Linked DNA regions of Homo sapiens: all the other regions are linked to region 1. Evidence: promoter capture Hi-C in 16 types of primary human blood cells and fetal thymus (Javierre and others, 2016). All regions are on one chromosome and are shown on one strand. The core of a region is centred on a gene start or on the middle of the fragment in contact, and the rest is flanking DNA. Distances in the headings are between cores, read along the strand shown. Region 1 holds the start of NOPCHAP1 (NOP protein chaperone 1). Region 2 holds the start of NFYB (nuclear transcription factor Y subunit beta). Region 3 has its middle 3.4 kb from the start of LINC02385. Region 4 overlaps TXNRD1 (thioredoxin reductase 1). Region 5 has its middle 70 kb from the start of EID3. Region 6 overlaps LOC124903003 (a long non-coding RNA gene). Region 7 has its middle 33 kb from the start of CHST11.

The links. Contacts are between HindIII fragments. The CHiCAGO score rates a contact against its expected background, and 5 or more counts as called.
Region 2: a contact is called between the fragment with the promoter of NFYB here and the fragment with the promoter of NOPCHAP1 in region 1, in 3 of 17 cell types (non-activated CD4 T cells, naive CD4 T cells and total CD8 T cells). The highest score is 5.8, in non-activated CD4 T cells.
Region 3: a contact is called between a fragment that was not itself captured here and the fragment with the promoter of NOPCHAP1 in region 1, in 4 of 17 cell types (non-activated CD4 T cells, total B cells, activated CD4 T cells and 1 more). The highest score is 8.5, in non-activated CD4 T cells.
Region 4: a fragment that was not itself captured here is called in contact with the fragment with the promoter of NOPCHAP1 in region 1 in 2 of 17 cell types (activated CD4 T cells and naive B cells); the score reaches 6.5 in activated CD4 T cells.
Region 5: a fragment that was not itself captured here is called in contact with the fragment with the promoter of NOPCHAP1 in region 1 in 16 of 17 cell types (naive B cells, total CD8 T cells, total B cells and 13 more); the score reaches 11.5 in naive B cells.
Region 6: a fragment that was not itself captured here is called in contact with the fragment with the promoter of NOPCHAP1 in region 1 in 3 of 17 cell types (neutrophils, total CD8 T cells and monocytes); the score reaches 7.2 in neutrophils.
Region 7: a contact is called between a fragment that was not itself captured here and the fragment with the promoter of NOPCHAP1 in region 1, in 10 of 17 cell types (naive CD8 T cells, naive B cells, total B cells and 7 more). The highest score is 8.7, in naive CD8 T cells.

The regions. Positions count from the first base shown.
Region 1 is chr12:104,984,488-104,988,730 of GRCh38, forward strand. NOPCHAP1 (NOP protein chaperone 1) reads left to right here and starts at 1,829. Exons shown (of 4, transcript NM_152318.3): 1 at 1,829-1,980; 2 at 3,680-3,766. The coding sequence starts at 1,866. It overlaps LOC105369952 (a long non-coding RNA gene), which reads right to left and starts at 1,883. Exons shown (of 2, transcript XR_007063436.1): 1 at 1,816-1,883. RefSeq lists enhancers at 1,483-1,995, 1,996-2,506 and a silencer at 2,059-2,308. The HindIII fragment of the contact is 4,173 bases long and covers 1-2,734 here.
Region 2 is chr12:104,136,291-104,140,533 of GRCh38, forward strand. It overlaps NFYB (nuclear transcription factor Y subunit beta), which reads right to left and starts at 1,920. Exons shown (of 8, transcript NM_006166.4): 1 at 1,851-1,920. It overlaps LOC105369947 (a long non-coding RNA gene), which reads left to right and starts at 3,941. Exons shown (of 3, transcript XR_945286.2): 1 at 3,941-4,243. RefSeq lists enhancers at 479-1,072, 1,073-1,664, 2,488-2,657 and silencers at 1,284-1,413, 1,474-1,553, 1,654-1,753, 1,804-2,103. The HindIII fragment of the contact is 8,431 bases long and covers 1-4,243 here.
Region 3 is chr12:104,164,473-104,168,715 of GRCh38, forward strand. No RefSeq gene overlaps it. Among named protein-coding and RNA genes, the nearest start is that of LINC02385, 3.4 kb to the right of the region's middle. The HindIII fragment of the contact is 2,041 bases long and covers 1,421-3,461 here.
Region 4 is chr12:104,348,392-104,352,634 of GRCh38, forward strand. It overlaps TXNRD1 (thioredoxin reductase 1), which reads left to right. Exons shown (of 17, transcript NM_001093771.3): 17 at 1-1,916. The coding sequence ends at 30. Among named protein-coding and RNA genes, the nearest start is that of EID3, 47 kb to the left of the region's middle. The HindIII fragment of the contact is 1,164 bases long and covers 1,368-2,531 here.
Region 5 is chr12:104,371,903-104,376,145 of GRCh38, forward strand. No RefSeq gene overlaps it. Among named protein-coding and RNA genes, the nearest start is that of EID3, 70 kb to the left of the region's middle. RefSeq lists enhancers at 1-136, 137-894, 895-1,650, 3,213-3,724. The HindIII fragment of the contact is 638 bases long and covers 2,179-2,816 here.
Region 6 is chr12:104,401,577-104,405,819 of GRCh38, forward strand. LOC124903003 (a long non-coding RNA gene) reads left to right here. Exons shown (of 2, transcript XR_007063434.1): 2 at 45-317. Among named protein-coding and RNA genes, the nearest start is that of CHST11, 53 kb to the right of the region's middle. The HindIII fragment of the contact is 3,430 bases long and covers 176-3,605 here.
Region 7 is chr12:104,421,783-104,426,025 of GRCh38, forward strand. No RefSeq gene overlaps it. Among named protein-coding and RNA genes, the nearest start is that of CHST11, 33 kb to the right of the region's middle. The HindIII fragment of the contact is 5,119 bases long and covers 1-4,243 here.

The DNA.
Region 1 (4,243 bases), core at 579-3,078:
GCTTTAGAGTGGGGTTTAGCTGGGAGCCCAATAATTCTGTATCACCAGTGCCATTACATACATTTTACTCCTTTTCCTCTTTTATTCCTTATAACATCCCCATGAAGTATTATTATCCTGATTCTGCAGAGAAGGACAGACGCTCAGGGAGTGATCTGCCCAAAGTCACAGCTACTAAATGAATAATATGACACTGGATTTAATCCACTCCAGGCTGATTCTGGAGCCTCTGCACTGTCAGAAATAAGCAGAAAAGATTGGTCCAAGGTTTCTGCTGCTTCTGCTTTGAATCCTATATAAGAGGGGTCTGGGCATACTGCAGGTGGTCAATAAAGACTGTTAAAAGAACAAACAGGAAAGGAAGCAATAGAGTGAAAAGGCAACCTACAGAATGGGAGAAAATATTTGTAAATCATATATCCGATAAAGGGTTAATATCCAGAATATATAAATAACTCCTACAACTCAACAACAAAAACACAAATAACCAGATTAAAAAATGGGTAAAGGAGTTGAATAGTCATTTCTCCAAAGAAGATATATAAATGGCCAACAAGCCCATGAAAAGGTGTTCAGCATCACTAAATCATTAGAGAAATGCAAACCAAAACTTCAAGATATCACTTCACACTCACTGGGATGCTCACTGTCAAAAAGAAAGAAGCAACCAAACAGAAAAAGGAAATATTGACAAGGATGTGGAGAAATTGGAACTCTTGTGCACTGTGGGAATGTAAAATGGTGCAGCCACTATGAAAAACTATACGGAGGCTTCACAAAAACCTAAAAAGTAGAATTACCCTATTATCCAGTAATCCCATGTCTGGGTATGTATCCCAAAGCATTGAAAAGCAGGGTCTCTAAGAGATATTTGTACCACCATGTTCATTGCAGCAGCGTTCACAATGACCACGAGGTGGAAGCAACCAGCACGCCTGTTGAGAGATCAATGGTAAGAAAATGTGGTATATACATACAATGGCATATTATTCAGGCTTAAAAAAGAAGAGAATCCTGTTATGTGCTACAACATGTCTAAACCTTGAGGGTATTATTTTAAGTGAAATTAGTAACAAAAAGGCAAGTACTGTATGATTCCACCTACATAATGTATCTGAAGTAGTCAAGCTCATAGTAACAGAAAGTAGAACGATGGTAGCTGGGCATGATGGCTCACGCCTGTAATCCCAGCACTTTGGGAGGCCAAGGTGGGTGGATCTCCCGAGGTCAGGAAATCAAGATCAGCCCGGCCAACATGGTGAAAACCCGTCTCTATACAAAAATACAAAAATTAGCCGGGCGTGGTAGTGTGCACCTGTAATCTTAGCTACTTGGGAGGCTGAGGCACCAGCCTGGGCGACAGAGCAAGGCTGTTTCAAAAAGAAAGAAACAAAGAAGAAAGTAGAATGGTGGTTACCAAGGGACTGGAGTAGGGGTAAATGGGTATAAGGTTTCAGTTTTGCAAGATGAAAATGATCTAGAGGTCTGCCACCACTGAATTGTACAACTAAAAATGGTTAAGATGGTAGATTTTGTTACGTGTTTTTTCACCAATTAAAAAAAAATTTAATAAAAAAGGATAAAGAGGAGGGAAGCCTAATGTTATGCTCTTTATGCCCGAATTTGGCGAAATCGAGCCTTGCCCGCTGTTTTTTCCTATGACAGTGTCTGAACCTTTCTTTTTCCCAGGAGTAGGAATGGCCCCTGCTCCCGCGCAGCCTCCAGGCTGCACCACGCTCGCCCCGCCTCTCTCTCCGCTCCTTACTCCGCCCACCGCAGTTTCCTCCAATCGCGGCCCTCTCCCCGCCCCCTTACCCGAGCCTTTTTCCTGCATCCGGGCCTGAGAGTGCAGGCTTGAGGGAAGCATGGAGGTCCATGGCAAGCCCAAGGCTAGCCCGAGTTGTTCGTCGCCCACCCGGGATTCCTCAGGAGTCCCAGTGTCCAAGGAGCTGCTGACGGCGGGAAGCGACGGCCGCGGAGGTGACGGACGGGTGACGGCGGCATGGGCCGCACACGTGCGGCAGAGGAGGCGCGGCCGGTGCAGTTTGGGAGCCGGCCGGTGGCTCCCTGCCCGGGCTCCGTACCCTCGAGGGGAGCCCCGGGGACTGCTGCGGGGCTCCGGCGTGCCCTGCCCGCGGCAGGGGTGGGGGCTTTGGGGCGGGCACCCGGCTGCGGGCCCGGAATGGTTTCCCCAGCTAGTGGTTCTTATATTCTGCAAGGTAGTGAGCGCCCACCCTGCCAGGCGCCGCTGCCAGGCATCTGCCCTGCCCTGGAAGCTGGGAAGCTCTCGAGTTCTTTTGGGGAAGGGAGGGCTTTTGGTTTGGCTGCCTGGGTCGGAGCAGTTGGCTGATAGGGGGAAGCGGAGTAATATTATGCTAACAGTCCCTACCTCTTTCACACCCACACAGACCACCCCTTAGTGCTGCTGTCTTGTAGAGGGAGACATGCATCCAGGAAATCCACACAGCATTTCAGACACTATAGGTAGAATTTAAAAGCACGAGTTCGAATCCCAGCTCCACTAGTAATTAACTGGTGGGACTTAGAGTTATTTTCATTCCCTAAGCCTCAGTTTTTGCATTTGGAAAATGGTGATAGTAGTAATGCCTGTAGAATTTTTGTGAGGAGGAGAATGCCTAAAAAGGCTTGGGCATGTTGTCAGTAAATACTAGCTTGAAGAAAAGGTTTTGTGAGAACCCAGAGATTCCGAAGGAAGTATAATAATGATAACCAAAGCTTATGTAGTCCTTACTATGTATGCCCCAGAAACTAACTCATCTAATCCTCACAACAACCCTTTGCAGAAAATCTGTTATCTCTGTTTTATAGTTGAGGAACCTGAGACATGATTTATCATACAGGTAATTTACCTTCTGGAGATCATGTGGCTAGAAAGTAGCAAAACTGGGACTTGAATTCAAGTAGTCTGGCTCCAGACTCTGTGCTCTGATCACGAATCCAGTAGGCCTTAAGTAGTAGGCATTCAATGGATGTTTGTTGCGGCTCTGCTTTGCAGGTGAACAGGATTTGTTTTTTAACCAGAGAGTTAAGGGATTTTCCGGGTATTAGAAATAGGGTGTGCAAAGCCTTGAGTTTTGTACGTTCCCCTCTTGGAACTCTGATGGGATAGAGAGTTGGGATGATTTGAGTAGTGAGAAATGAGGCTGGAAAGGTAGAGTGGGTGACAAAATCCCCAAAAGGCTGCTTTCCTTGGGTTGAACGTCTTCAGGGAAGGGGAAATACCAGGCAAGCATGTTTTACTAATGAAGAAACAAATGCTTGAAGATCAGGTAAGTTGCCCAGTGTTACACAACTAGTAACCATTTCTGGCTTCACTTAACCATTGTTATGCTCTGTACTGTTTCCTCCGTTCTGTCATTGCAGACCCACGTTTGTCTGCTAATGAATTTCTGATCCAGAAAAGTGCAGATTGGTGTGCATTTATTACCTGCCATTGGTGATAGAGGTGAATGAGACAGATGTAAGAAAGGAGAGGTGGCTGGCTGTACATAAAGAATTAAAATGTTGTAATGGAGCTTGGAGTTCTCCTTTAAAAAAAAAATTTTGGGGGAGTGTGGACAGTCAAGTCTTAAGACTGGTCATGTGAGAGGCTTACTGATGGGCCTTTGTTTTTTTATGCTGTAGTAAATTAAGGGTGTTTGTGTGTCTGTATTTTCAGGTATATGGGACAGGTTGCTCATCAACTCCCAACCTAAGTCCAGAAAGACCTCCACTCTTCAAACAGTTCGGATAGAGAGGAGTCCCTGTAAGTACCTCTTCCCCTCTCTCACCCTCTCTAATGCTGAGTTTTGTCTGATTAAGCTGTGGGACGGTCTCTGCCTTCATTGTCAGGTATCAAACCACAGATAGTCCAGTGGAACAAGTCCTACTTGGGATTTACATGATAAAGTCAGTACACAGAATGGAACTTCTTACATTATTTCTCTACTTTAAGAGGGTAACTTTTTCGTGAAAAATTGCTTGTGGGTTGAATTTTGGGAAGTCAAAAACAATTGTTAATCTCCATGGCAAATTTATTTAGAGGTTACTGAGCCTCAAACTTAATATATATGGATGGAAAACCACAACCACATCCCATTGAATTGGACACAATTATTTAAATGATAAATATTACTTAGAATACAGCATAATGGCCAGTTCTCTTTATTATTCTGTAGTATTGCTGTACTGCACATTCATAAGTATGTCCCACACTCAGACTTTATTACACGAATGCCCTCTA
Region 2 (4,243 bases), core at 670-3,169, 850 kb before region 1:
AGGGGTAGGATGCCAAAACAAAAACACATCCTTTCAGTGTTAATTTTAAAGGGAGAAGATATACTGATACGCATCCAAGCATGAAATCTAGCAAATAGCAGAAAAAATTGTAGCCACTGAATTGAAAGTTTTTAATGCCACTAAAAAGGTCCAGGTAGCAAAAACTGCTTGACGTTTGCTATAATATTAAAAGTAATTTATAATTTCTTTTCAAATATTAATAGTATCCTCTAACCCCAAAACTGCTCAGAAAAGTCCTTCCTTGTAACGAGAAATGTTATTTTTTAAAGAGTGTCTTTGAAAAAATAAGCCCTCAGAACACTTAAAACATGGGAGCTATATTTATGTATTTTGCTTGGAATGGGAGAGGGGGGTGTGGGCAGGGAGTCATACCACACCACACTCACTCACCCAAATAGTTGATTCAGTATATATTTAGACTCAGTACATTAAAGAAAAACACTGTCACCTCATATGGTGTATATTTTCTTAAGGGCAGGTTGATATATGTAAAAGCTCAAGGGAATGCATACATCTGTTTAATGTTTTAAGAAATGCAAATTTGTATCCAAGAAAAGCAGTAGTCCCTTCCTCCACCCTCCATTCTTTGGCATCAACAACCAGAGTTTTGCATCAATATACAGTAATCCTTAAATTAAGATACAAGAGCAATGCAGGGAAGGAATAATTTGCCTTTTAAGGAATTTTGGTTAAACTTTCAATACTTTACAAATAAACCCCCCACTGATTAGTGCCACTGATATTGATCCGTTTGCTTTCATCACTTTATGTTGCTGATTAGTTTCCATACTAAGAGAGATGAAACCACCCCAGTGATTTGTAGCACGAACCACGCAACTATGGGGTCCATGCGGGTTAGTGGGATGCCATTTTTTTAAAGGTCGCAGGCTACCTAACCTTGTTTAAATTATCCTGTTAGAGTGCTTTGGGCGAGATTACGATTTGTGGGTGCTCTGTAATTCTTTGTTCTCTAAGACTACCGTTCTTTAAGGCCCTGCATATCCTCCCGCCTCCCACCACTAATGATTAAAACCTTAGTCCAATCCGAAGGGCTTCCTTCCCACCTTCGGGGCAAGTACAGGGACCGCAAACCGCCAGATGGCTGCATTCTTTACGCGCAAACCAGGCTGCGGGGAAGCTAAAGCCATGCCTTCCTCCCCACGCAGGTGCCTGGGTGGCCCCGGCCCCACGGCCTGGTCCCGGCGACCTGTCAGCCCTGCGAGTGCCAGGAGGCCGCCCCCAGAGCGCATCCCCTGACTCGCCCGGCCGCCCCGGCCCCGCGCCCAACGCCTGCCTCCCACCCGCCGCGCGGCCCCCGGGATGTGCGGGCAGACAAAGCGCCGGGCCCCGCCACAGCCCCGCGGGCGGGAGGAGGGCGCCCCCGGGGACTCGCGCCGCCGCCGGGGCTACGGGGCCAGGGCCCGGGCCGCGTCTCCCGCCCCTCGGCCGGCTCCCCGCACAAAATGGAGCCGGCCCGGGACGCCGTCGAGAGCGGGGCCCCGACGCAGCCCCGCGGCCCCTCCTCGGCCCCGGGCCCGGAGCTCAACGGCGGCGAGGGTGAGGTGGCCTGGCCCGCGTCCCGCCGCTCCTCAGCCCGGCGCACAAAGAGCCGCGCCGCGGCCCCGCGCCCGCTCCCCGGCCCGGCCCGCTGCGGGAGCGGCCTCGCAGGCGCGGGGCCCGGCCTCGGCCCGCGCGGGAGGGCGGGAGGCTAGTGCCCCCGGCCGCGGCGGCGTTGGCGGCGGGGACGGCGCCGGGAGGAGACGGACATTTCATTCGAGCTAAAGTGGAGTCGGTTTAGGAGCGATCATTGGCCGAAGCGAGACACAAACCTCCAATGCAGCCCTGGTTGGCTCCCGTCTCCAATCGGCTGTTTGGTTGGACAGAAAATGGCTGCGAAGGAACCAGTCCCAGCGCGGAGCTCCGCTTCCAGGACTCGGCCTCCCCTCCCTCCGCCGCGGGCCGCTTCCCTCGGCGCGACACCCTCCCTCCGCGCCGCCCGCGCGCCCGCCCGCCGCGGCCCCGCCCCGCCCCGCCCCGCCCCCGGCCCCGCCCCGCCCCCGGCCCAGTCCCGCGTTCCTGTGAGGCCTCCGCGCCGCTCCGGATGCCGCTCCTCTAGGCGCGAGGTCTTCCAGGGCCCTGCCCGGGCGCGCCGTTCGGGTCTAGGCGGGCCTCCTTCCCGGTGCTGACCCGGGCCTGTGCGAAGCGGGATCTCTCGGGCGTCCCTCTCTTTGTCACCCCTTCCCCCGCCACGTGGAGGTGCCTCAGCCGCCTGAGCTCAGCCTGCCTGCGCCTGGATTTTTAAGAAGGGGAAACCAAGGACAGAAGCCGCCCCCTAGGACGACGCGCCCGAGCCACCGGGAGGGTCTGAACGGCGGGGGCCTCCTGGAGCGCCTTCAGCGCCTCGTGTTTTCTTTCCTTGGGTCCCTGTTAGCGTCGCCGCATGCACAGCGCTCCCTGTCATTTGGTCCCTGAGCTTGGGTGTTTTTCACATTTCATCTAAAGATGCAGACCCCTGCTAAGTCTAGCCAGCCTTCACCCTGAATCTTGAACTTAAGATGCTGCATTTTCCACCCACCCCCACCCCTCTAGTAGCTGCAGATTGACAAGCGGCTTTTCCCAACCAGATGACATTTTGGCTGCAAGAATCCGTGGCCCGTTCTTGCCTCTGTGCAGCCAAGCTCCTTCGCTGTCTTTCTCAAACTGCAGTCCTGAGTTCAGCTTCGCTTAGCAGTGACCATCCCAGAGGTGGGTAATCCAACACTGGATCCACTCACTGCAACCGGAGCTGGGGATGGCATGCCCTCTGCTTCCACTAACCGAGTGGCCTGCACCACATTAAACTCTCCAGCTTTGATTATGTAAAAATACAGAGATCTTTTATTTATAGAGTTCCTACTGTTTCTCAGAGTATTTAAACATTTCTGCGGCAAGTATGGAAGAAAAGACAAATGAAAGCCCCAAATTGTGACAAGAGGAGTAAGTAGCAATGCCACTGTCATCAGACAACCTGACTTGAATTCCAACTCCCCTTCTTACAGGCTTGTGATCTTGGCCAAATGTCTGCTTCTCAGGGTTGTTTGGGATAATGTATACATAGAAAGCCCTTTAAAAAAAAAAAGTTATCCCAGCACTTTGGGAGGCCGAAGCAGGCCGATCACCTGAGGTCAGGAGTTCGAGACCAGCCTGACCAACATGGCGAAACCCCGTCTCTACTAAAAATACAAAAATTAGCCGGGCGTGGTGGTGGGCGCCTGTAATCCCAACTACTCAGGAGGCTGAGGCAGGAGAATCGCTTGAACCCGGGAGGCAGAGGTTGCAGTGAGCCGAGATCACACCATTGCACTCCAGCCTAGGCGACAGAGCAAGACTCCATCTCAAAAAAAAAAAAAAAAAAAGTTATCCTAAGATCTTTATATAGCATGAATTTCTTCAATCTCCATCAAACATTTAAAAGGTGTTATTTGCTTAGAAAAAAAAAAGGAAAAATTGGCCTGAGTTTAATTTCTCCCTTTCTCTATGCTTACCCATAAAGTGGAGATTAAGGAGTGAAATGATGTGTTCAAAGGTTCAAAGGCAGGAAATATAAAGTAATAGAATTGGGAGAAGGGGCTGGGCATGGTGGCTCACGCCTGTAATCCCAGCACTTTGGGAAGCCAAGGCAGGCCGATCACCTGAGGTCAGGAATTCGAGACCAGCCTGACCAACATGGAGAAACCCCGTCTGTACTAAAAAATACAAAATTAGCCGGGCGTGGTGGCGCATGCCTGTAATCCCAGCTACTCGAGAGGCTGAGACAGGAGAATCACTTGAACCCAGGAGGCGGAGGTTGCGGTGAGCTGAGATCGCGCCATTGCACTCCAGCCTGGGCGACAAGAATGAAACTCTGTCTCAAAAAAGGAAAAAAAAAAAAAAAAAAGAATTGGGAGAAAGATGACTAATCCTTCTCCCAATTCTGGATGGTGAACCAAAAGATGCGAAGATGACTACTTTTCTGAGTTAATAGTTTATCATTTCAGTACTGTGGATCTAAACTATGTGCTTAATTCAAATTCCACTAAAAGGTAATATCAGCTCCTACATTCTGCAGGCATTGTACTAGGAGCCCAAGGGCTACAAAGGTGAATGAATCACTCTCCTTACCCTGAGGAGCCAGAACTCTAGGAGAAATGGAACCCGGTCCACATCCCCTCTGCAGTTGGATCCTAGGTCATCCTGCCTTAAC
Region 3 (4,243 bases), core at 1,191-3,690, 820 kb before region 1:
CAAAAGTGAGAACATTGTAAGGGTTTCAGAAATCTTATCAAAGTCTAATCATAAATTACAAATTCCCTTTCGGTTCTGCTTACCCAACATTGATGTTGCAGGAGGCTCGAAGTATAGAGAGAAGTAAGATATAGCCCTTGCTATAAAGAAAGGATCATCAAATTTCTTCTGTAAAGGGCCAGATAGTAAATGTTTTAGGCTCTGGGATATAAAGCCTATTTCTTGCGATATAATAAGAAACATATATTTGGTCTTTGCCCCTAGTTCCTGGCACATAGCTCTTGGAACCTTGGAACCTCTGAAAGGATAAATGTCTATTTATATGCTAATGAGATGACTGAAGGCTAGGGCTTCCTAAGCAGTCTCAGGACCAAGGCTGGTTGCCAGGGGAAGCAATCATGTAAGTAGAGGTTGGAACTTTTAGTCCCACCCCACCAACCTCTAGGGAGAAGAAAGAAGCCAAATGTTGAGTTGATCATCAGTGGCCAATGATTTAATCAATTGTACCTATGTAATGAAGCCTCCATAAAAACACCAAAGGACTGGGTTTGAAAATATTTTTTTTTTAGACAGGGTCTCACTGTCACCCAGGCTGGATTGCAGTGATACAATCACGTCTCACTACAGCCTCTACCTCCTGGGCTCAAGTGATTCTCCCACCTCAGCCTCCTGAGTAGCTGGGACTACAGGTGCCCGCCACCAGGCCCGGCTAATTTTGTATGTTTTGTAGAGACAGGGTTTTGCCATGTTGCCCGGACTGGTCTCAAACTCCTGGGCTCAAGTGATCCGCCCGCCTCAGCCTCCCAAAGTGCTGGAATTACAAGGGTGAGCCACCGTACCTGGCCTGAAGAGCTTCTTGATAGCCAAACACATGGAGGTACCTGGATGGTAGAGCACCCAGAGAGGGCATGGAAGCTCCGTGCCCTTTCTCATAAGCCTTCTGATGCATCTCTTCCATCCATCTGTTCATTATATCTTTTATAAGAAATGGATAAACATAAGTAAAGTGTTTCCCTGAGTTCTATGAGCTGTCCTAGCAATTTAGTTGAACCCAAGGAGGAGGTCATGGTAACTCCAGTTTATAGTGTTGCCAAACTGAGCTGGGGCCTGCTTGCCTGGCACAGTAAGGCCAAACATCCATGCTGAGATTTTGCAGTGAGAGAAAGGAGGGCATTTATTTGCAGTGTGCCATGCAAGGAGAATCTGGCAGTTCATGCTCAAGATCTGACCTCTGCAAGCCAAGGGTTTTTAAAGGTACAGGTAAATTTCAGGAAAGCAGAAGTTACAGGCAAAATTGTAAACCAATACTTGGAGGTTAAACATCAGTTTGGCCTAAAAAGGCAGGATATCCTCAACCAAGGGCTTACAGGTCATGGGTCAATTAAAAGATTTTCTGATTTGCAATTGGTTAGGGAAGGAAAGCTTCATCTAAAGACTTGGGGTCATCAGAAAACAATGTTAGGTCTGGCCCATGGGCGTGACTTCCTCCTGGCCCCTGAGGAAGAAATTTAGAACAAAGAATGGCAGCCAGAGTTCAGTCCTCAGTGTTCTCCCCTTATCTGAGGTCCGTGTGCCAGTGGATCCATTTGGCAGGGGTCTGGATTTCTAAAGAACAACTCAGGGCTATTTGTTAACATGTTATCTTTAGTTTCTATAGAGAACCAAACATCTCATGACTCTAACTTCCTTGGCTATTGTTTTAAGCTACTATTACCTTTTTGCTTATTAAGTTGCTCATTTACTTCTCAGGGCTAGCTAGGTTCCCAGGATTTCCCTTAAATGAACTCAAGATTTGCCTTTATTTCCATGCTTGAGGGTGCCTAGCAGGGACCTCTGTTCCTTCTCAATAGCTGATTGGCTGGAAGCACTAATCACAACCTTGGGCTTGCAACTGGCATCTAAAGCAGTCTTATGGGACTGGGTCCTCAACCCATGGGATCTGATGCTATCTCTAGATAGTGTCAGAATCGAATGGAATTATAGGATGCAAAGCTGGTGCCTGACGAGAATTCCTTGGTGTATGGAGAAAAACCCACACACATCTGGTGTCAGAAGTGAAGTATTAAGTGGTGTGAGTAGAGAGAAAAACCACTGAGTAGACAAAGTGGTTTAGGCTGCTGGGAGAGGACTGCTTGTCTGTCGGCCAGGACATTTCTCAGCTGGACTAGTGAGATGATTACTTTATTCTCTTAAACCTCCAAGGCTCAGATGATGCCGTGCATGACTCCAGGGAGCACCATTCACTTAGACTATAGTGAATAGCACCCCCTGCAGCTGTGCAACATGGTGGCTCAGGCCAGTTTATACACCTGTCATATTCTCTCTCTCCACTTTATCCCCACCACCACCCCGTACGACCACCACCATGCTCAGAAAACCCTTGCCTAGCACGCTCCTGGACTATTCATGTCAAAACAACTGTGGGAAATGATGCAAATAGCAACATTAATATCCACAAGCTAAAATACAGCATGGCTTCATTTTCTTCTTGTTTCCTTTCTCCGTGATATCAAGTTGTGTTTCTGCCTGTGAGAAAGACACTCACCCATCCAGTCCCAAAGAATGGACTTACAGGCACGAAGAACAGCAAAAGTGAGACTTTTTTTTTTTTTTTTTTTTGAGATGGAGTTTCACTCTTGTCACCCAGGCTGGAGTGAGTGCAGTGGCACAATCTTGGCTCACTGCAACCTCTGCCTCCCGGTTCAAGCAATTCTCCTGCCTCACCCACCCGAGTAGCTGTGATTACAGGCACCTGTCACCACGCCCAGCTAATTTTTGTATTTTTAGTAGAGATGGGGTTTCACCATGTTGGCCAGGCTGGTCTCGAGCTCCTGACCTCAGGTGATCCACCTGCCTCAGCCTCCCAAAGTGCTGGGATTACAGGCGTGAGCCACCATGCCCGGCCTCCAGTGGTATTTCTGGATCCAGCTTCTGTGTGGTGACCAACTGGGTGTGACAATAGCTCAGTTAGTGAGCAATAGAAAATAATGGAAAGACTCACACACAGTCAGCCCACAAATTCCTGCAACACCAGAGGCAGACAGGTTATAGGATACTGGGTTCCCTTATGTTCCTAAGTCATCTTATTGTGTGTCTTATTTTCCACTTGAGGCTGTTCTTTGTGGTAATTTTAATATGACTTATCTTGCCTTAAACATTTAGAGTTGGAAGGAAGGGACAGAATGTATTTTGCCCTGGGCCCTCACCTGCTGGGGAGGACTACTAGCCACAAACCCTCCCTAAAGATAACTGTGAGCACAGGGTAAGCATGCATTCCAAGCGTGACTTAATGAGAACTCTGTAATGTACCAAGAAATAAAAAGATAAGCATAGACTGACACAAAGATCAAAAGGGCAGATGAACTGTCAACTTCCAAATCAGTTTTTCCTCCAAAACATATGTTTAAAAATCTTTACTGGTAACAAGCCTGAAGGATTTTGATTTTGTGATCTCATATGTAAGCTTATCACCAACTCTGAAGGCTTAGGTCTGCTGGCATGGGTTCCATCCTTCCTTAGTGAATAAAGTACCACTTGTTGAATTGCCTCTATTGGTTCCTGGAGTGCCTCTGAGTTCTTGGAGGTCTCTGGAATTCAAGAGTCTGTTCAGTCCAATACAGCTTAGGGCAGGGGACCCCAACCACTGGGCCATGGACCAGTACTGGTTCACAGCCTGTTAGGAACCGAGAAGCACAGCAGGAGCCGAGCAGCACAGCAGGAGGTGTACAGCAGGCAAGTGAGCAAAGCTCACCTGTATTTACAACTGCTCCCTAATGCACACATTACCACCTGAGCTCTGCCTCCTGTCGGATCAGCAGTGGCATTAGATTCTCATAGGAATATGAACTTTATTGTGAACTGTGCATGTGAGGGATCTGGGCTGCATCTAAGTTGCATGCTCCTTAGGAGAATCTAATGACTGATGAAACCATCCCCCCATCCTGCTCCCATCTGTGGAAGAATTATCTTCCACAGAACCGATCACTGGTGCAAAAAGGCTGGGAACCTCTAGTTTAGGGAATTAAAAAATGGCCCAAGACAAGTAAGTTGTAGAGCCATGTGAGAAAACATTTTAAATGGTCCATTTTCAAGGCATGATAAATCTAAGTACATGGTGAAACCCCATCTCTACTAAAAACACAAAAATTAGTCAGGTGTGGTGGCTCACGCCTGTAGTCCCAGCTACTCAGGAGGCTGAGGCATGAGAATCACTCAAACCCAGAGGCAGAGGTTGCAATGAGCT
Region 4 (4,243 bases), core at 700-3,199, 640 kb before region 1:
AGCATCCTCCAGGCTGGCTGCTGAGGTTAAGCCCCAGTGTGGATGCTGTTGCCAAGACTGCAAACCACTGGCTCGTTTCCGTGCCCAAATCCAAGGCGAAGTTTTCTAGAGGGTTCTTGGGCTCTTGGCACCTGCGTGTCCTGTGCTTACCACCGCCCAAGGCCCCCTTGGATCTCTTGGATAGGAGTTGGTGAATAGAAGGCAGGCAGCATCACACTGGGGTCACTGACAGACTTGAAGCTGACATTTGGCAGGGCATCGAAGGGATGCATCCATGAAGTCACCAGTCTCAAGCCCATGTGGTAGGCGGTGATGGAACAACTGTCAAATCAGTTTTAGCATGACCTTTCCTTGTGGATTTTCTTATTCTCGTTGTCAAGTTTTCTAGGGTTGAATTTTTTTCTTTTTTCTCCATGGTGTTAATGATATTAGAGATGAAAAACGTTAGCAGTTGATTTTTGTCCAAAAGCAAGTCATGGCTAGAGTATCCATGCAAGGTGTCTTGTTGCATGGAAGGGATAGTTTGGCTCCCTTGGAGGCTATGTAGGCTTGTCCCGGGAAAGAGAACTGTCCTGCAGCTGAAATGGACTGTTCTTTACTGACCTGCTCAGCAGTTTCTTCTCTCATATATTCCCAAAACAAGTACATCTGCGATCAACTCTAGCCAAATTTGCCCCTGTGTGCTACATGATGGATGATTATTATTTTAAGGTCTGTTTAGGAAGGGAAATGGCTACTTGGCCAGCCATTGCCTGGCATTTGGTAGTATAGTATGATTCTCACCATTATTTGTCATGGAGGCAGACATACACCAGAAATGGGGGAGAAACAGTACATATCTTTCTGTCTTTAGTTTATTGTGTGCTGGTCTAAGCAAGCTGAGATCATTTGCAATGGAAAACACGTAACTTGTTTAAAAGTTTTTCTGGTAGCTTTAGCTTTATGCTAAAAAAAATAATGACATTGGGTATCTATTTCTTTCTAAGACTACATTAGTAGGAAAATAAGTCTTTTCATGCTTATGATTTAGCTGTTTTGTGGTAATTGCTTTTTAAAGGAAGTTATTAATATCATAAGTTATTATTAATATTTTGAACACAGGTGGATGTGAAGGATTTTCATTTAAAAACCAAGTGGTTTTGACTTTTTCTGTTGAATGAACAACTGTGCCTTGTGGAATTTTTGCAGAAGTGTTTATGCTTTGTTAGCATTTCAACTTGCATTATTATAAAGAGGTATTAATGCCTCAGTTATGTGTTTGTCAATGTACTGGCTGAGGATTCTATCTCAGCTGTCTTTTCTAACTGTGTAGGTTGAGTTTTGAACACGTGCTTGTGGACATCAGGCCTCCTGCCAGCAGTTCTTGAAGCTTCTTTTTCATTCCTGCTACTCTACCTGTATTTCTCAGTTGCAGCACTGAGTGGTCAAAATACATTTCTGGGCCACCTCAGGGAACCCATGCATCTGCCTGGCATTTAGGCAGCAGAGCCCCTGACCGTCCCCCACAGGGCTCTGCCTCACGTCCTCATCTCATTTGGCTGTGTAAAGAAATGGGAAAAGGGAAAAGGAGAGAGCAATTGAGGCAGTTGACCATATTCAGTTTTATTTATTTATTTTTAATTTGTTTTTTTCTCCAAGTCCACCAGTCTCTGAAATTAGAACAGTAGGCGGTATGAGATAATCAGGCCTAATCATGTTGTGATTCTCTTTTCTTAGTGGAGTGGAATGTTCTATCCCCACAAGAAGGATTATATCTTATAGACTTGTCTTGTTCAGATTCTGTATTTACCCATTTTATTGAAACATATACTAAGTTCCATGTATTTTTGTTACAAATCTTCTGAAAAAAAACAAAACAATGTGAAACATTAAAATTAAAAGGCATTAATAATATCCACGTGTGCCTTCTTACTGAATGATGGTCTTGGGAGTCTTTGCAAGAGTATTGAGTAGATCTCTGATATTGTGTTGAAAAGCTAGCTGCTGAGTAGGCTCCAATGATGCTATGCTGATTTAAGTATAGAAGAACTAATCAGTTCATTGCCATTTCCCATCTTCTGGCAGTATCAGGCACATAGATGGTCAATAAATGTTTCCAGAAATGTTGATTACCATGTTCAGATTATGCATTCACATGCACTTAATCTTCTTAGGTATCACTTTTTAAGCAGAAACTCCTCTTTTATGTAATCTTTACCAAAAACCTTCCCAGTTTGTACTTGTTTTTGTGGTAAGTAGTTGCAGGGTGCTAGTAATAACAACAGCTAAATGAGTGTTTACTGCAACACGTGCAGGCACTGTGCTTGACACACCCTGGCTGATGTGATCCTTACAACAATCCTATTAGAGAAGGTGCTTTTGTACCCATTTATAGATGGAGAAACAGGCTCAGAAGTGTAAGTCACTTTCTTAGGATTACACAGCCAGTTAATGCATCACGTTTTTGAGGCCAGAGTTGGGTCTGTGACCTCAAAGGCGCTACCTCTTAGTTACCTCGCAGTGCAGCCTCCCATTCATCTCTGACAAATGGAAGCTTTTAGGTCTGCTGCATCAATTCCTGGGACTTCACATTTTCACATGCCGTCAAGCAATGCTGTCTACACGCTTAATAAATACCTTGTCTTGAGATGTTCTAACACTTTCCTAACTGGACTTTCCACCGCCAGTTTACTTCCCACTAGAGCCAGGCTCTTATTGCCTGAACTTCCCTGTCTCAAGCCTTTGAGGTTTTCCCAAGGCCTGTAACTAGACCCACAGTCCCCTGCCAGACCCTGAACCTGTTATCTGCAGCTCTAGCCTGCGCTTTCCCTTGCCTGTTCTGGCTACACCTGCTCTATGTCCCCATATAACTACTAGCCTCCCTCAAAGGTCACCTGCTCTGCGTAACTTCCAGCTGGTTCTCTACCTCTACTCCCAGGGTACTCTGTATTGTCTCTAGAGCTCTTTGAATTACTCTGCATGGAGTGTAGTGTGTGTTTCTGTCACCACCACTAGATAATGAGGGTTCTTTACCTCTGTGTGCCCCACAGCTTCTAGCACAAGGTCTGGCACTACAGAAGCACTTAGAACATTGGTGTAATTGGATTGACAGGTAGAGCCATAACTATCAGAGATGGCCATATAGGAAGCCTTTTAATTTCTTCCTGTTATGTCAGGAGCCATTGATTTAAATGTTAATGAAAGTAGAAAGGGCCTAAACAGAAAAAAAGTCAGCCTCACTAGTGAGGGGGAATGCAAATTAAATTGCAGTGAAATGCAAATCAAGCTGAAGTGAGATACCATTTTATACCCACTGTGAGTGGCTACTTTTTTTTTTTCTTTGAGACAGGGTCTTGTTCTGTTTCCCAGGCTGGAGTGCAGTGGTGCGAACACAGCTCGCTGCAGCCTCTGACCTTCTGGGCTCAAGCCATCCTCCTACCTCAGCCTCCCAAGTAGCTGGGACTACAGGCATGCACCACCATGCCCAGCTAATTTTTTAAGTTTTTGTGGAGATTGGGTTTTTTGCTCTATTGCCCAGGCTGGTCTTGAACTCCTGGGCTCAAGTGATCACCCTGCCTTGGCTTCCCAAAGTGCTAGGATTACAGGCATGAGCCACTGTCCTAGCCTGGATGGTTAATTTTATGTGTCAACTTGACTGGGCTAAGGGATGCCCAGAGAGCTGGTAAAATATTCCTGGATGTTTCTGTGAGGGTGTTTCTGAAAGAGATTAACACTGATTCGAATCAGGAGACAGTAAAGAGGGTCACCCTCACCAATGTGGGTAGGCATTGTCTAATCCTTGAGGCCCAAATCAAACAAAAGGCAGAAAGGTGAATTTACTCTTTGCCCTTGAGCTTGGAGATCCATCTTCTCCTGCCCTCAGACCTTGCTGCTCTGGTTCTTGGGACTTTAGACTCAGATTAGGACTTGCACCCTTGGTTCCCTGGTCTCAGGCCTTCAGGTTTGGACTGAAACTCCATGACTCACTCTCCTGGGCCTCCAGCCTGCAGATGGGACTGTGGGACTTTTCAGGCTCCATAATCACATGAGCCAATCCCTCCTAAAAATCTCTTTCCATATTTTATGTACACACATATGTATAAAATCCATTGTTTCTGTGGAGAGCCCTCATGCACCCATTGTATGGCAGATTTAAGAGTGCCAGTATCCAGTGTTGTCAAAGACATGGAGCAACTGGAACACTTATTATTATTGCTGGTGGGGATGTAAATTATTCAATCACTTCGGAAAACAGTGAAGATCA
Region 5 (4,243 bases), core at 1,248-3,747, 610 kb before region 1:
GCCGTTGAGGGATGCTACTTTTTTCCTGACGATGACTATGAACGTCTTGTGTGGTCTAAGACAGCAGTCCTTTTTGGCATCAGGGACCGGTTTCATGGAGGACGATTTTTTCCACGGTCGGGGGGTGAGGGGGGTCAGGATGGTTTTGGGATGAAACTGTTCCACCTCAGATCATCAGACATTAGTTGGATTCTCATAAGCAGTACACAACTTAGATCCCTCGCATGCCCAGTTCACGATAAGGTTCATGGTCCCATGAGAATCTAATGCCACCACTGATCTGACAGGAGGCGGGGCTCAGACGATGATGCCAGGGATAAGGGGCGGCTGTAAATACAGATGAAGCTTCGCTCACTTGCCCGCAGTGACTCGCCCCACTTCCTGCTGTGGGGCCCAGTTCCTAACAGGCCACAGAGCGGATGAGTACCGGTCCACAGCCCAGAGGCTGGGGACCCCTTGTCTCAGAGACATCTTGAGAACCTCTTTATTTCCTCTTTGTTAATGCAAGAAGTGGTTTTGAAAGCAATTCATGCATTTTCAGGAAAGAAGGCAAAAGAGACTAGGGAAGGGGGTGGGGAAGGCTTACCAGGTGCTGTATACACGACAAAGCAGAAAGGCTGGGAACTACAACTCTGGAGTCAGACACATTTTGGGTTGAACTCAGTCACTGCCCATTAGCATAGTGATCCTGGAGAAGTCATCTACCCTCATGTGTGAAGGAGAAACAATGAATGCTCCTGGACCCTAGAGCTGCTCAGAGGATCCAATAGAGCAAAGATGTCAAAAGGCCAGCGCCATGCCTGGCACAGAGGAAGGATTCAATCAGTTAATTCAGCCATGCTGAAGCCACCATGATGTGACAGAAAATCAGCTTGCAGCTGGGGGAGCGGGATTTGCCTCCTGATCATCTGCCCCGGAATCCACCACCTTCCTGAATGGCAGTCCCAGCAGCGCCAGGGTGGAAGCAGATGCTGGCTGAGGAGAGAATCCTGCCCTTCCCCGTCCAGCCACTTCCAGCCGTCTCCCAGCCCCTGGGTGCTGCACGGGCAGTACCAAGACTTCCCTGGCCCGGAAGGACCTCTGACAAGGCCCTGGAAGCCCAGCAGGGCCAGGCTGGGCTTTGAGAGGAGATGAGTGTTAGGAGTGCGTGTCAGGTGGGGGAAGGGAGCTGTAAGCAGCAGAGACTGGCCAACCTTGCCCATGAGCTTTAGGTCTCCATCTATGTGTCCATGCAGAAGGGCCCCCAGAGGAGAGCAGCATCCCGGCCTCTGTCAGGAGAGGAGAGAGTTACCCGATTTAAGGAGCTCAGGAGAAAGAGTGAGTGTGCTCAGCTCATCCCTCCCCTGTGGGAGCCAGCTCCCACCAAGGGTGAAGAGGGTCAGGCCCTGGGGTTGGGGGTGGATGGAGGTCTGCAGAGGTCCCCCAGCAGCCCCTGTGAAGGATGGGCAAATTCGTTTGTGCACTGCAGTCTTGGCAGCCTTGCACATTGTCCCCAGCTTCCCGTTCCCCAGCCTACCTCTTTTTTTTTTTGTTTTTGAGACAGGGTCTCACTCTGTCGCCCAGGCTGGAGTGCAGTGGCGCTGTCTCGGCTCACTGCAAGCTCCGCCTCCCGGGTTCACACCGTTCTCCTGCCTCAGCCTCCCGAGTAGCTGGGACTACAGGCGCCCGCCACCATGCCCGGCTAATTTTTTTGAGTTTTTAGTAGAAATGAGGTTTCACCGTGTTAGCCAGGATGGTCTCGATCTCCTGACCTCATGATCTGCCCGCCTTGGCCTCCCAAAGTGCTGGGATTACAGGCATGAGCCACCACGCCCGGCCTCATCCCCAGCCTACCTCTTGTAAAAATGAGCTGCCACTTTGCTGTCCATCCCTGGGACCCTGGCAGGCTCCATGAGTAGGCAAGAGAGGGGTGTGGTTCACCAGCCCCACCTCCAACAATGTCGGGAAACTCTGTGTTCCATCTCCTCCTGAAGCTGGCAGCCCTCAGTGTATACTTTCTCAGCTGCAAATGCTACCATTTTAAACTCAGAGGATTTTAAAAAATATATTTGAGCCTCACACAGGAAGACCCAAAAATTATTAAAATATAGAACATTTAGACTGTGGGGCAGAGACTGCATCTGTTCTGTTCACTTACCCCTAGGTCCTAACATACATAGTAGGTACCCAATAAACATAAGCTTAGCAAATGACTGAAAATTAATTTAAGCAGCTCATATGTGAAAAGAGCATATACACAAAGATGTTCATTGCAGCATTGTTTATAATGGTAGAAAATTATTTTGTACAATCTGGTTAAGAAATCTGTGGTATATGAATGCAATGAAATGGCATGCTATTATTAGAATTAACAAGAGGACTATCAAACCAGGAGAACAGGTTTACGGGATGTTGCTAAATGAAATTTAATAATACTGTGATTTAAAGAATGTAAACGTGTATATCTACATAGATGAAGATTGAAAGGCCCATTTAGAGATAAAGTCATTGCTGTGTAAAATTAGCAGCAATTAAGAAACACCTTTGGTAATGTTTTACAGTGGATTCTAGAATATGTTTTAAACTCTTTTAAAGAAACCCCTGCAGTATTTTCTAAACAGATGAGATGGTGGTTTGCTATTTTCCAGAGTCCATTGAGTGAGCTGTGAAAGGCCCCATTGGATAGGGGGCTTCTGGAAATTTCCATCTCCCCACCTCCTGGTGGGTAGCAACTCAGAGCTGGCAAAATTATTCTTGGCAAAGGCAATCTCATGTCAGAAAGAGTTCTCAGTGCAAAGAGCCTTTAGCAACAGAGGTGCTAGAATCTGTGTCGGTGAAGCTTTGCAAACAGCAGGGATTCCACAGAGGCCTTTTCAGGCCTTTATTTCCCACTCTGTACCTTCTCCTCCTTCTTTTTTTTTTTTTTTCCCAAGTTTTGTAAACATCCCAGGGATGATTTTTGTACTCCCCCAGGTCTGTGGGAGTCGGATGAGATGGAAAGAGGCCTCGCATTGTCCCTGCAGACCTGTATCCCTTCCGGCCACCCCTGCTGCCCTCACACTCCCCTCCCACCACAGCACCCACCTGTGGTCTGACAGAGGACACCACACCTTTGCCCATTCTCACACCCCCTCCCGCTGGACAGCCCCTGTCCTTAATGAGGCAGCTTGATGTTTTGTGGGACCTGCTGGTGTCCTGCCCAGGGAGGGGTGTGAGGGGTGGTGGGCTGGCCTGCTCCTGGAACTGTAGCATCAAACTGTTCAGGCTTTCATTTGCAACAGCCACACACTGGGACACCAAAATAGGTCCCGGCGGAGATGTGGGTGGGGCTGGCCTGGGCTTGGCCCCACCCAAGTAGGGCGCCAGGGAGACAGAGTGCCCCAGCACCACCAAGGTGGGCAGAAGCCATGTGGGGCCACTGAGAGAAATTCCACTGAGGTTCCTGTTGGGCCTTCCTTCCACCCAAAGTTTTGGACCTTCTGCTTGAGTGAATTATAGTGGGAATTCTGGGCTTTGGCTTTGGGGGCTGCCAGATGAGAAGGGTCTTAGTGTTCAACTGGTCCCACCTGGCACTGCGGGAAAAGCAGAAGCTGTCACCTCCCAGCTCTGCCATTTACTAGCGCAAGTTGTTGAAGGCCATCGATTCAACGCCATTTAGGTGTGTGCTAAGCGTTACATACACCTTATCCTTTGTCATCTCCACAGCTCTGGCATGGGTGTACTCTTCAGAGATGACAAAACTGAGGCCCAGAAAGGGTGAGTCACTGGCCCAGGGTCACCCAGCTTATCGTAGGTGAAGCTAGGATTTAAACCCAGATCTAATTTTCCTCCCAAGCAGGTGACTTAATCTTTCTCCTGAGCTACCTTCTCGTGTCTTCCCGAAGCCAATTTCCCTTGCAAAGCAGCAGAGCAACTTGACATTGGTGCACATGTTCCCCTCCAGAAATCCCGCCTGCAAAAACTCTGAAAATGGAAAGTTTATTCATGGGAAAACTTGCCCTGAGCTGCCACAAGGCTCATTGTGGTCTTGATTTATCTCACTTATTGTGGACGTTCACATGATTTCCTGAAGAAATATGAATGAGTTAGACTGTGGATCTGTTAGACGTTGCTGGGAATCTGACAGGGTATGCAGAAATCACACTGTGTTTCTCTAGGAAATCCTGAATTCTCAAACACATCAGGTCCCAAGGGATTCAGACAAGGGCTGTGGATCTGTATAAAATGGTCCACTAATGCTCACGGCAGGTGGGGGGCTGCTCAT
Region 6 (4,243 bases), core at 641-3,140, 580 kb before region 1:
GACCATGCTAGATCTTCAGCAAAACTTGTTTTTCTTTCCTCCAGGGCCCATGGACAAACCACACATGCCAGTGTCCCCACTGTTAGGGAGGGGTCATATTGATGGACTCTGACCAATAGCATGTGATGAATTCTCTTCCTACACCTGTCAGCTGGGAGCTGAGAATCCAGGGGGAAGCTTCTAAGGCTCCAGGAGGATGAGCTTTTAGATGGAAGGAACCTGAGTCCCTGAGTGACTTGGTGGAGAACCTCCACCCCCTAATCAGCTACACTGGACGTGACATGATTGAAAAATAAACATTGGGCATGTTGCTTTTATAGCAGCTAGCATTCCTTACCCAGGCCCATCTACCCAGCATTTCCCAGTGTCTGATACACAAGATGATTTCAGTATACCCAAACAGTTTAAAATGTTCACTTCTTACACATTTGTTTTATAGGTATGCTTTCTTGATGTATTACATATTTGTTTTATAGGTATTTCTTTATTAACAAAGAACCATAGACTGGGTGGCTTAAGCAACATTTATTTCTCACAGTCCTGGAGGCTGGAAGTCCAAAATCAGGGTGCCAGCAGGGTTGGGTTCTGGTGAGGGCCCTCTCCCAGATTGTAGACTGTCAACTTCCTGTTGCATCCTCACATGATGGAAAGATGGCTAGAGAGCTCTCTGGGGTCTCTTTTTTGAAAAAATTTTGTTTATTTATTTATTTATTTATTTTTATTTTACTTTACATTCTGGGATACATGTGCAGAGCGTGCAGGTTTGTTGCATAGGAATACATGTGCCATGGTGGTTTGCTGCATCTATCAACCCATCATCTAGGTTTTAAGCCCTACATGCATTAGGTATGTGTCCTAATGCTCTCCCTCTGCTTGCCCCCCTTCCCCCAACAGGACCTGGTGTGTGATGTTCCCCTCCCTGTGCCCATGTGTTCTCATTTTTCAACTCCCACTTATGAGTGAGAACATGTGGTATTTGGTTTTCTGTTGCTGTGTTAGTTTGCTGAGAAGGATGGCTTCCAGCTTCATCCATGTCTCTGCAAAGGACATGAACTCATTCTTTTTTATGGTATGGTATAGTATTGGTATAGTATGGTATAATATGGTATAGTATTCCATCACGTATGTGTGTCTGGGGTTCGTTTTATAAGGACACCAATTCTATTCATGAGGGCTCCACCCTCCTGACCTAATCAACTCCTAAAGGCCCTACCTCCTAATACCATCCCGTTGAGGTTTAGGGTTTTGACACATGAATTTGAGGGGTCACACACATTCAGACCACAACAAAGTATTAAATACACACACACAAAAACCTCATCAGCCTTATGATTTCAGAGATATTATCACTTAGGACAAGGATTGGTTTAATTATGCAAGTTGGTTAAAGAAAAATGTCAAGTAAATAACAAAAGGTAGCAGGTGGAAATGGCAAAAATTGTGACAGTGACACACAGGCTGGCTTACTCCATGTGGTTATTGTGAGGCTCAAATGACATCGTGTATGTGAAGTCCCTCTCGTGAGCTGGCCTAGGGGGCCAAGGCAGGTGGATCGATTGAGCCCAGGAGTTTGAGACAAGCCTTGGCAACGTGGCAACACCCCATCTCTACAAAAAGTACAAAAAATTAGCCAGGCATGGTGATGTGCACCTGTAGTCCCAGCTACCCAGGAGGCTGAGGTGGGAGGACTGCTTGAGCCCGGAAGGTGGAGGCTGCAGTGATCTGTGATTGTGCCACTGCACTCCAGCCTGGATGATAGAGTAAGACCTTGTCTCTACAGCAACAACAAAAGTCCCTCTCCTGGTCCGGCGCATAGTAAGTATGTGACAAATAGTAGCTCTCATCTTGTAATATGCAACCTGCATTACAGGATGGATTCCACCACCTCTGGTTTGCTGTTTACTTGCCTACTGCCCTTCATCTCTGAATCTCTAGTAGTAGCTCCATGCCCAGCACCTAATGGGGCCACATAAATAGAGACTGAGTGTTAATTATTAAAGGGGCATAACATCCTTTCCAGAATCACAGATTTGAGTACACTGGGCTATGAGCCCTGTGCAGACAAGAACTACATGTGTCTGACTGAGTGCTGTATCCCCAGCATCCAACCCAGAACCCAGTGCTTGGTTGGTGCTCAAGAAATATTTGTTATGAATGAACATACTTATCTGAATTCCTCTCATAGACTCCTACACTGCCCAACCTGGCCTGAGCCTTGAGAACAATACTTCTTAGCTAAAGAAGAGGAAAGTAGTCTGGGCACGGTGGGTCACACCTGTAATCCCAGCACTTTGGGAGGCCGAGGCGGGCGGATTACCTGAGGTCGGGAGTTCGAGACCAGCCTAACCAACATGGAGAAACCCCATCTCTACTAAAAATACAAAATTAGCCGGGTGTGGTGGCACATGCCTGTAATCCCAGCTACTTGGGAGGCTGAGGCAGGAAAATCGCTCGAACTCAGGAGGCAGAGGTAGCAGTGAGCCGAGTTCGTGCCATTGCACTCCAGCCTGGGCAACGAGAGCGAAACTCCATCTCAAAAAAAAAAGAGGAAAGTAAAAGTATGAAGAAGCAAAGTGACTTCACAAAGTCACACAGGTATGGGAATGTGCAGTGGGGTTTTTGAAAGTCACATGGGACATGAAGCAGTTCTTTGCTGTGCAAGACTGTCCCAGGCATTGCCTGCCAATGCCCATGAAAGCCAATGGTGTCTCTAATCATTGTGATAATCAGAGATGCTCTGGAAGATCTCCAAAACACCTCATAGGGACAGTACCCCCCTGGGAACTGCAGATCCAGCCTGTCCTTCCAAATGGATGAAGAAACTAAGACCCATGGAGGAAGACAGGCTTCCTCAAATGATGAAGCCAGCATTTGGAACAAATTCCTGACACTGGATTATGAATCTTTCTCTAGGGCCAGGCAGGTGGCTCATATCTGTAATCCCAGCATCTTGGAAGGCTGAACTGGGAGGATTGCTTGAGCCTAGGAGTTCAAGACCAGCCTGGGCAATAGAGCAAGACCCTGTCTCTATAAAAAATTAAAAAATTAGCCAGACATGGTGGCTTATGCCTGTAGTCCCAGTCACTTGGGAGGCTGAGGTGGGAGGATGACTTGAGCCAAGGAGGTCACGATCAGGCCACTGGACTCCAGCCTAGACAACAGAGTGAGACCTTGTCTCAAATTTAAAAAAAAAACAAAAAACTTTTTCTCCAATCATTGAGAGTAGGACTTGTTCAGATCATAAAGGAAGCTCCTGGAGGGACAGGGGCTTGGGGCCCATCAGGACTCAGCACCGCAGGGTGGTACTAAGGCAACTCCCATGAGCTGATGAGGAGGGAAGCCCCTGGGATGCTCTGGCCTCTGCCCCTGTCCCTTCTCCGCTGCGGCTCAGCCCTGCCTGGGGAGGAGAGCAGCAAGGGGGTGGGAGGGTGTGGGCAGAGATAAATCTGCTCCCAGGCAAAAGCTGGCTCTGACTCCTAATAGAACTGAGATGAGTGCGTGTATTTTAAAGCAAATAAATGTTTCAAGACCTGAGAAGGGAGACGTTAATGGCTCCATTCGAATTCAGCAGAATTTATTTTCCATTAGGGTTGGGCTTTCTGAGAAGCTTGGTTCAATCAAGGTTAGACATGAAAACAGCACTGTGGCTGAGTGGACACCAAGTTCCCCTCCACCCACTGCACCTTGCTTAATTAGAGCTCCTGACCTGCAGCCGCCCTTGGCTGGCCCACAGACAGATGCGCTAGTCTTTTTTGCTCTTTTTGTTTTTTTCTTTTTTTTTTTTTGAGACAGAGTCTTGCTCTGTCGCCCAGGCTGGAGTGCAGTGGCGCGATCTCGGCTCACTGCAAACTCTGCCTCCCGGGTTCACACCATTCTCCTGCTTCAGCCTCCCAAGTAGCTGGGACTACAGGCGCCTGCCACCATGCCCGGCTATTTTTTTGTATTTTTAGTAGAGACGGGGTTTCACCGTGTTATCCAGGATGGTCTTGGTCTCCTGACCTCGTGATCTGCCCACCTCGGCCTCCCAAAGTACTGGGATTACAGGCGTGAGCCACCGCGCCCGGCCACTCTTTTTGTTTTTTTCTATGTTGGATAAGATTATCTTTTCAAACTTATTTTCACAATCAGCACTGAGATGACCAACTAGCCAAGCTGCCCCGTGTGCCTGCCACCTCTCCATCCACGGGTGCCTGCCAGCCGGTAATGAGAAGTTTGCCTTGCCCTTTAGAACCATTATTTTAAA
Region 7 (4,243 bases), core at 863-3,362, 560 kb before region 1:
TGTCTGATTCTGATCCAATAGTTGTTACACCTTTGCTTCTGGCAACATATTTGTTTACTCTCCCAATTGCCACCAGGGAAAATAATTTCATGGGCCATGATAAAAGCGTGAATGAGATAGTTGCTTTAGATTCAGGCATTTCTAGTACCCAGAAGCCTTAGGCAAATATATCTTCTGGAAATTCTACCTTCATCACCAATTCTTCCACACCTGGGAGGCAGCAGAATTTATCAGGGGCAGCCCAAGGGTTATCATTGACTTTCTCCAATTTCCTTTCCATCCACAATTTGGTTTATCACTCAGTTCATACTCTGTCCAAAAATATGTCCTGGAATCTGTCTTCTCCTTTGAACTCTTATCTGCCTAATTAGGCTTCAGGTTTCCAAGGCCCCCAAGTCCGCCTAGTCAGTGTTGATGAAAAAAGTCAAACTCTGTAAAATATTTGAAGAGATTTATTCTGAGCCAAATATGACTGACCAGTGGCTCATCACACAGTCCCAGGGGATCTTGAGAACATGTGTCCAAGGTGGTCAGTCTACAGCTTGGTTTTATGCATTTTACAGAGACGTAAGACATCAAGCAATCAATACGCATAAGATCAGTCTGGAAAAGGGGGGCAACTCTGGGGGGAGTGGGCTTCCAGGTCATAGACAGATTCAAGAATTTTCTAGTTGGCAATTGGTTGAAAGAGTTATTATCTAAAGACCTAGAATCAGTGGAAGGGAATGTCTGGGTTAAGATAAGGGGTTGTGGTGACCAAGTTTCCCATTATGCAGATAAAATCAACAGAAGAGAATATTTCTGATCAGACGTAAAAGAGTCTATCTGTATTAAGGTCTCTCTTTTTATGTTAATGCTAGTCAGCTGTGCCTAAATTCCAATGGGAGGAGGGTATAATGAGGCATGTCTGAACCTCACTTCACATCATGGCTTGAACTAGCTTTTCAGGTTAACTTTGGAATGCCCTTGGCCAAGAGGGTGGGGTCCATTGGCCAGTTGTGGACTTAGAATTTTATTTTTGGTTTATGTTAGTATTAGTCACACCCAGCTCTTTTGATTTTACTCTTTTTCCCTTTTCCCCCTCTTTCTGGTTCCAAAGACAGCTTTCCTGCAGCACTTCCCTTATTTTGAAATTATTTTTACAAGTCTGTGTTTCCTACAAGGGTAAACTCCTGAAAGACATGGTCTTTTTTTCTTTTAACCTGGAAATGGCTCCTAGGCACAATTAAGACAAGACTAACTCATTAATATGCCTAAAGGAAGAGTCCAGAAGGGGTGTAAGGGGCATAGATATTCACAGAAAGCAGAGACAGAGAAAACACACAAAAAAATGTTGACCCTCTCAGATGAGGAGAGGTTCTTTCTGACTACCTCAAGCTACCTTATTACTTTTTTAATTTGTAGAGATGAGGTTTCACTACATTGCCCAGGCTGGTTGAACTTCTGGGCTCAAGCGATCCTCCCACCTCAGCCTCCCAAGTAGCTGGGATTATAGTAAGTGTGCACCACAAACACATGGCTAATTGTTTAATTTTTTTTTTGTGGAGGTGAGGGTCTCACCGTGTTGCCCAGGCTGGTCTTGAACTCCTGGGGTCAAGTAATCCTCTCACCTCAGCCTCCCAAAGTGCTGGGATTTACAGGCATGAGTCACTGCACCTGGCCTTAGAATAGGAATGTTTCTCAAGAACCACAGATCCCTGCCACTTCAATCATTTGATGACTGAGCGAATGTCTCTCAAATTTAGAGCCTCCTTTGAAGACCTGCCTGGGAGAAACGAATGGGTCTACTTTGCAAAAAGGAGCTATGATTCCTGTGGTGAATAGGAAAATCAATCAGCATTTCTGTTTGTACACTGGCTTAGGGAAAGGCAACTGAGTCCCTACAAGTTGGTTCTGCCCACCTTCTGTTGACATACACCAGTCTGTGAGTCTTCAATGACTTCAGTAACCTCACTGAGGGAGCTGGCCCCATGTCACTATCATGACAGTTAGCAGATCTTTCTAAAAAAAAAAAAAAAAAACAAAACCATGCTGGATCTGATTTTTCCACTCAAGAAGTGCTTTTGGGGCCTTATCAGTCTTTCCATTTCTCCAGAAAGCACTACAAACAATAGTAGCAGTTTCCTTTTTTTGAAAATTTACTCTGTGCCAGGCACATAGTTTTGTTCCTGCCCAGAATACCCTATCAGTCTATTTCAACCCTAGCCATCCTTTAAAGCCAACCATTTGTTTACTTACTCAACATTTACCCAGCACTTTCTAGACGCCAATATATGTGGCAATGTTGAGTTGAGTGAGACGCAGCTACAGTCCTCAGGAGCTCACCGTGTAATGAGGCAGAAACAGAAACTCTCTAATGAAATAGTGCATAATGATAGAGAGACGAACGGGATCCTGTGGGATACAGAGGGTCATATAACCCAGCTTTGCAAGGGAGGCTGATTCGAGAGGCTTCGTGGAGGAGGTGACACATGAGCTGAATAGGAGAGAGACTGTGGAGAAAGGCATCCTTGATCAAGTTAGCAAGTGGAAAACCACAGTGTGTGCAGGGTAAAATGAGCAGTGGTTCCACATGTTTATGGAGGACAGGTAAAAAGCCAGAGTCTACATCCCAGAGGGAGAGAAGAGATTCAACTGTTCCCCCAGTCTTACTTTCCATGCAACTTGTGTGGTGTGAGCATCCTGCCTCTGCACTTAAAGTGCCTAAAAGATACATCATTATATGAAATATCTTCCAAGTACAAGCCTGCTGTTTCATCTTTGGGGACAACCAAAGAAACAGAAATCTGCCCCAGTATTGGAGGGAAAACTAATCATGCTAGCCCTTTGTAGAGATGCAGGAGGAAGACTGTGTACCTGATGAGCATTTAAAGGATTTTCTCAGGTAATTTAAATGTTGCACATCTTTGCTTAGACTTCAGAGCCAACCTCCTCCCGCTGCCATGCAGTTCAAGGGCTTGTCGATGTGTTCACCTGCATTTTGAAATTTTTCCCAATGAGACTGTTAATTGTATTGAGGATGGGTCCTATCCCTGAGACAATGCACTTGCATTTTTTCTGTAGAAGAAATCCTCTAGAATGCACAGTAGGCTGACTGGTTTTGATGAGATACCAGTGAGGGTGGCTTTAATTTAAGCAACATGTATACAATAACATATTCCACCAGAACTAGCAATATTGTCAGGTTACAGGTTTTCAGGGCTCAGGATACCACTAGTGGCCCACTTGCAGGGTCAGAACACACACTGGAAGTTCCCAATTGCTTCTTCATTTACACAAGTTCTGTAGAAGAAACTATCAATGACAAAGCAGTGACATATGGTGGTGAAGACACTCCCTGCACCAGACTAAAAGTTTCAGTACCACGGCCAGGTGGGGAATTAAAAGAAGGAAAAACCTTGTAAACTTGATGTTAGAGTCAGAGAAGGGATGATCCAATGCCTACAATATGAGCTGAGGGCCAAGAATATTTATTATTTCTTTTACTGTTAGTTCAAATGTGAATTTCCTCTGCTCAACTCCAGACACTCAACTCCAATTTTCTGACAGTAACCATTGTAAAAAAATATTGCCACCATCTTTGTCTTTTGGGCTTATAAGTGGACTAAGTTCTTATGCTTGGTTAGGTAGAATCTTTTCAGTGACCTGAAAATGAAGGCATATGCAAATATCTTTAAAATAGTCTTTTTGAAGCTGCACAGAAAGGAAGAGTCGAGAGATCCTTCTGCGGTAGTATTGATTCCTCCCTCCCTCCCAACCAAGCCAGATCTTCAGCAGGGAGCTGGAATTGGGTTTCCAGAATAAGAGGATTGTATCCTAACAGTTCTGGAACTACATGGGGTGACATTCTCATTCAGGTGCCACCCAAGGTTTGATGACATCTGTAACAAGTCTGCTGAGAGGACAGCACAGAAGTCCCTTCAGAGGAAAAAGGCAATAAGAATGCAGCATCAAGATCCTGATTTATCGTGTTCGCATTTACCTGCCAGTCTCCTTGGATACGCCTCTCTGTTGCAGGGTAGGGGTTTTGGTTAGAAATTCTGCTCACATGCCGGGGTTGGTAGCTGCATAATTGAACAGCACAGAACTACCCAGGGAAGCTGGAGAATGTTGATTGCTCCCAGATGGATGGCCAGGGGGGCACCTGGAGGACCACAGGGTCTTAAAGGGCACTCAAAGCAAGCTACTGTTCTTCCTCACTTCTCACTGGAGCACAAGGTGTTTTGCTGCCTGCAGAAGGCAG